2 separate regions of the Homo sapiens genome follow, and region 1 is linked to region 2. Evidence: promoter capture Hi-C in 16 types of primary human blood cells and fetal thymus (Javierre and others, 2016). All regions are on one chromosome and are shown on one strand. Each heading gives the region's core, a stretch centred on a gene start or on the middle of the fragment in contact. The rest is flanking DNA. Distances are from core to core; before and after follow the strand shown.

The links. Contacts are between HindIII fragments. The CHiCAGO score rates a contact against its expected background, and 5 or more counts as called.
Region 1: a fragment that was not itself captured here is called in contact with the fragment with the promoter of MIPEP in region 2 in 9 of 17 cell types (total CD8 T cells, naive CD8 T cells, naive CD4 T cells and 6 more); the score reaches 12.6 in total CD8 T cells.

What each region holds. Positions count from the first base shown.
Region 1 is chr13:24,214,742-24,217,598 of GRCh38, reverse strand. All of the region lies in intron 1 of SPATA13 (spermatogenesis associated 13), which reads right to left. Among named protein-coding and RNA genes, the nearest start is that of SPATA13-AS1, 38 kb to the left of the region's middle. RefSeq lists an enhancer at 1-53. The HindIII fragment of the contact is 4,973 bases long and covers 1-2,857 here.
Region 2 is chr13:23,887,848-23,890,744 of GRCh38, reverse strand. MIPEP (mitochondrial intermediate peptidase) reads left to right here and starts at 1,345. Exons shown (of 19, transcript NM_005932.4): 1 at 1,345-1,613. The coding sequence starts at 1,425. It overlaps PCOTH (prostate and testis expressed opposite C1QTNF9B and MIPEP), which reads right to left and starts at 1,877. Exons shown (of 4, transcript NR_172510.1): 1 at 1,734-1,877; 2 at 703-745. RefSeq lists enhancers at 946-1,005, 1,065-1,565. The HindIII fragment of the contact is 13,692 bases long and covers 1-2,123 here.

The sequences.
Region 1 (2,857 bases), core at 228-2,727, 330 kb before region 2:
TCCCACACTGCCCGGTCATTCTGCTTTCCTTGTCTGCCTTCTCCACTAACCTCTCTGAGGAGCATGGAAAGTTCTCTATAGGCAGAAGCCTTGTCTTATTTCACTGTGTTCTCAGCATGTGTCTGTTGAATGACTGGCTGAAGGGGCTGCTGGCTTTGCACATCTCAGGTCTGATACCCCAACATCTGGGCCAGATGGTTCTTTGTTGTGGGAGCAGACCTGTGCTTTGTAGGATGTCTAGCAGCAACTGTGGCCACTGATGCTATTAGGAAGAAGAATTGTAATAAAAAGAGAGAGAGTGCTGAAAACCATGAATGTGCTACCAATTAGTTTCAGAATAGTTTTTCTGAAATTACTGGAAAAAAGTTTTAAGAGACTCAATCTTGCTATGTTGCCCGGGGTGGCCTCAAATTCTTAGACTCAAGTGATCCTCTCACCTCATCCTCCAAGTAGCTGGGATAACAGGTACATACCATGGCCAGTTAAAACCACTGAAATTTATCATTTCCTTTTTTTTGTTTTTGTTTTTGTTTGTTTGTTTTGTTTTGAGACAGAGTCTTGCTCTGTCATCCAGGCTGGAGTACACAGTGGCACAATTTCAGCACACTGCAACCTCGCCTCCCACACTCAAGTGATCCTCCCACCTCAGCCTCCCAAGTATCTGAGATTGCAGGCACATGCCACTATGCCCCACTAATTTTTGTATTTTTAGTAGAGACAGGGTTTCACTATGTTGGCCAGGTTGGTCTCAAACTCCTGACCTCAAATCGTCCTCCCACCTTGGCCTCCCAAAGTATTGGGATTACAGGCATGAGCCACCATGCCCAGCCATAATTTACAACATTCATAAAGAGAAAGCATCCAAGGTCCTAATTTCAGAGATGAAGTTATTCCCCAGGCCTAATGCCAGACACCGTCCTTCCTCTTCCTAGCCCCAATATACATACCTTAGTAAAAGAAAGAAGCCCCCTTACCCTTTGATCTGGTACCTTCAGGGTCTCTCTGTGTAAGGAGTAGGTAAGATGCTTCAAAAGAGCATCTGTAGCTCTGGCGTCACTTAAGTATTCAATCACTGAAGTTCAATGTTTGTGAATTGAAAGTATATGGACAAATGCAACTAGAATAAGCGTATCTTTTGGAAAGGTGTCAATTTCATACAAGCGTGTGATTGTCTTGGCTTGCCTTATGGGGGTTACTGGGCTAAAACACATTCCTGTGGGTGAGAATGGTGTTTCCCCAATAGGGATTCATATTTGCTTTGTCAATCCTCTGGGGTGATGGGGTGCAGAAAACAAGGATTTGCAAAGGCAGGTCTTAGACCACAAAGGAAAATCTTCCTTCTGTGTCTAAAGTTGCAGGTCAGGCTGGTGTAGTGAGAGATGAAAGGGCAGGTAGGTCTGAGCTTGTGCGAAAGATGCTGGCATCCTCCATAATGCCCCTCCCTGCCTGCGTCCCCAACCTCTGCACAGTGACAGCCTCTGAGCTCCTCTTCCTCCAATCTCACAGCAACCTTGGAAGGCTCCAGGGGAGCTGTTGCCAGTCACAGCCCTCAGCCCTGAAGACTGCCCTGCGTCTTGACTTCCTACAGCCATGGCCTGTCCACCACCTTTCTGGTGGTAAACAAGATTGCAGCAGTAACAATGAAGTTCCCGGTTAGGACTACCTCATGCCTGCAACCCATGCCAAAACTGATGTCACCACAAGACTGCACCTCCCCCACATTTACCATTCAGGGCAATGAAAATTTTCCAGATGGATGGCCCTAATCCTGAAGGCACTGTGATGGTCACTGGAGCAAAAACAATGTCTCTGCTTGGCAGAGGCAGACTGGCCCAAATCTGGAGCTGTGTTCACTGAGTTCACAGGCTAAGTCACCCAACAGTGCAGTCAGCACAGAATACCCCTAAAGGGAATGATGTAGCTTTTACATCCACAGCTTAATTAGACATACTTAATAACTGTGTGTAAGAGCATATATGTGTGTTGCATTTTATTTTTGCTGCATTTATTTTAGTGTTCAATTTTTTTGTCTTTGCATAAAATGTGTTTCCAGGCAGAGCCCCAATTTATAGCTTTGCATTCTGAGGAAATGAGATTAATTTTCAACTCAGCTTCCACCCAGCAGCCTATCAGGTCTTAAGGTAGGGGATGTCCCCACAGACCATTTTGCCACTGTTGAGGACAGAGGCCCAGAAGAGGCCCTTTCCCTGTGCTGTGCAATCAAGTGTCTCATCCTCTCAAATTAGTTTTACACATTAAAGCAGTTGCTGAAATGCCTTCTGCTTCTAATTTAAACTGTCTTCTAATTGAACTGAGATTTGCATATTGTTTTCTTGCAAGCCCTCCCTGCCTCTTGGCACACATCTCCTCATTTAGGACATGCACGACAGTCATGTGACATGATGCCACCAATGAACCAAGCCAGAGGTGACCAGCTACTCCTCCTGAACAGGGGTCCCTGGAGCACACACCCCATCTCTCAGAGGCGATCTGTGAGACTTTGTTAGAGGTGGAGGTTCTCATTGCCAGCGCGTCCTCAGGGAGACGCTGTGCTCGAACATAACCAACACACAGAATTCAGGAATACTCTGGTATAATATCCCAGGGACATGGCTCCTTTGACACAGCTTAATAATGTTTTAAATATGTCAGATGCTCAGTGGGGACTGAAATGAAAGCAAGTACTATATTCTGACTTTTGCGAGAAGTTCAAAACCAGCTGAGTTTAGTTGCTAGGAAAACTAAAGAATCACTAATACTTAAATATGTTGAATCTCAAAAAGGAAAGCGGAGATGCAAGATGAGACAAGGTTATGTTACCCTTTACAAGGCAGAAGCAAATGGGAAGTGAGAGTCC
Region 2 (2,897 bases), core at 96-2,595:
CTGTCAACCCATCACCTATGCAGGTATTAAGCCCTGCATGCATTAGCTATTTGTCCTGGTGCTTTCCCTCCCATTTTGCTCATTTTCTAACCTAGGTTTTAATCACCATTCTATCCAACAAATCATTGTTTGATCATTATTTGCCAGACATGAATCTCTACTTGTTTTCTAGGATCGCCCTAATAAAGTACACAAACTGGGAGTCTTTAAACAACAGAAACGGACTTTCTCACAGTTCTGTAGGCTGGAAGTTTGAGATCACCGTAGCAGCAGGGCCATCCTCCCTCCAAAGGGGATACAGGAGGATGCAGCCTTGCTGCTTCCAGCTTCTGGCAGCTGGTGGCAGCATCACTCCAGTCCCCGCCTCCATCTTCAGGTGGCTGTCCTCCTCCTGTATCAGCCAAATTTTCCTCTTCTTACAAGAACAGCTTCCCTAATCTAGTATGACCCATCTTAATCATAATTGCAAACTCCATATTTTCAAATAAGGTCACATGTACAGGCACCGAGGGTTAGGACTTCAGCATCTATTTTGGGAGACACAGTTCAACCCAATCTGCCCTCTGGTTCCCAAAATTGATTTCCTTCTCATGTGCAAAATACATTTTCGCACCATGTCAACATTACCAAAAGTCTTAACACTTTCCGCATCAACTCCTCTCACCATCTACATCATTTAAATAAGCTACAGAGGAGACTTACTGTGTGATTCATCGTGTGGCAAAATGTCTCTCCATCTGTGATCCTGTGAAGCGAGACGAGTTAATCCACTTCTAAAAGACCGGGGGTTGGAGGGGGAGACAGGCATAGGGTAGACAATCCATTCCAAAAGAGAGAAAGGGGAAGGAAAAAAGGGTTCACGGGTCCCAGGCAATTCTGAAACCCTGGAGGGAAAATCCCATTAGACTTCTTTCACTATTTCCCATCTAAAATTTTTAACTGAGCTATGCAAGAGTAAAAAGTTACCGGACAGAGACACCAAACAGAGAAGTGCAGGATAAATTTACCAAGAGAGTAGGTTAAAAGGGAAACTTCTCCTTCAGGCCTATGGTGGGCATTTCTTGTTTACTCAAGTACCTGCCGTCTCTCAAAGAATATCTAATGTCCACTGGAATTCGAATATGTCATGATTTTACTCGCGCCCACCCCTAGTCAACTTGGGAGGGAAGCGCAACCCTAGCCTTTTCTTACTCTGGACACAGGGGGCGGTAAACCGGGAGGGCGGCCGAGAAGGCGAGGGGGAGCGACGCTCTTGCTCTCTGGACGACAACGTGCCCACGTCCTGAGGCCGCGCCCAGACCCGGAAGCGGGGCCGTCACGTGGGGCGGCGTGGGCTGCTGCCTTGGAAACGCGGAGCGCGCGCTCCCAGCGAAAGCAGCAGGGCAGGGATCTGCGTTGGAGGAAGGGACTGCTCTGGTGCTAGAATGCTGTGCGTCGGAAGGCTGGGCGGCTTGGGAGCCAGAGCAGCAGCTCTGCCGCCCCGCCGGGCGGGCCGGGGAAGCCTCGAAGCCGGGATCCGGGCCCGAAGGGTCAGCACCAGCTGGTCTCCCGTGGGCGCCGCCTTCAATGTCAAGCCCCAGGGCAGCCGCTTGGACCTGTTCGGCGAGCGCCGGGTGAGCGGCGCAGGAGGAGCTCCCCTCAGTCCCCGAGCTAAGCCGACCCCTGCTCCGCGCGGCCAGCAACAATCAGGGCGAGATTGTTTGGGCCTGGGAGGAGGCGAGCAGCGAACCCACCTTTTACAGTGGCGTCTTGTGTGCGCTCTCGATGAGGGCAAGGTCACCTCTGCTTTGAGGGGCCGGGTTTAGTGGTCTCCTACCCAGAGTGTCGGGTCCGGGAACTGCTTCTGCATGAGCCCCTTGCTCCACGTGAATCTGAATAGTTCGTTCTGGCAGTGGCGGTGAATTCGTCCTGCCAGGACCCGCCCTCTGCATACACTCAGGCGCACCCCTGCTAAAGCCCTTTAGCTCCAGCGCTACAGTCCTGCCTTAAGAGGCCTATCCCTGTGCGTTCACAGGCGGCATCACATGGTCTTTTTGCAAGGACACGGCTGCCTGCAGTCGAGTAATGGTAATTTCATTAATACCTGAAATTCCATCATCTATTAATTAATTTATTTCAAAGCTTTGGGCTTTCTTGTTTTAAAACACAAAACTCTGTTGAGACGAGTCTCACTTCCCATAGTGCCATGGAATTGGTCACTTTGATTTCTTACCCCAGGAAGTCACTAGCCTGCGTTGTCTAGTGAAAGGTGAGAGGAAGGCAAGGTTGGAAAGGACTTACCTGATGCCTGTTCTACTTGGAGTTTGTACATTTTGTCCGTTTTAGGTTAAGGATTACTTTTATTTTTGCCTTTTAAAATTTCGTTATACTGTATTGCCTTATAAAGACAAGTCTAGGGTATTGTTGCACTGAGCTAAAGTGTGTGATTCTTGTTTTATCTCCATTATCAGTTTTGTCTATTTAAAAATTATTTTGTGTGAAATTTGCTACACCACCTTCCTTAAGGGTATGTAGTGTTGGTATTAACATAGTTGGTGTGAAGAGACCTACTTGTAGGCGCTGAGCAGAAAGACGTGAGGGGAAGCCTGATTTTGGGTGGATGAGATATAACTAATTTTAGCTTTTATTTTTCCCTTTTTGTATCATGATATTCGGCACTGATAGCAGATTTTCAAATTTTAGAATTGATTTTTGCCTTGAAAAAAAAAAAGCCTTATTCAGTTTTTTAGCATTATGGTCACTGGTAATCCGATAGTTAGAATTCCCGAGAGCAATATGGGCAGGTTGTACTGGGAAGTGGAAGTAGTCTGTGCTTGAATCAAATTAAATCAGTATAAAGATGACATTTGTTTTTGGTCCTGATTTTCCTTTGTCTCCCACTGACTTTCTTTTATTTT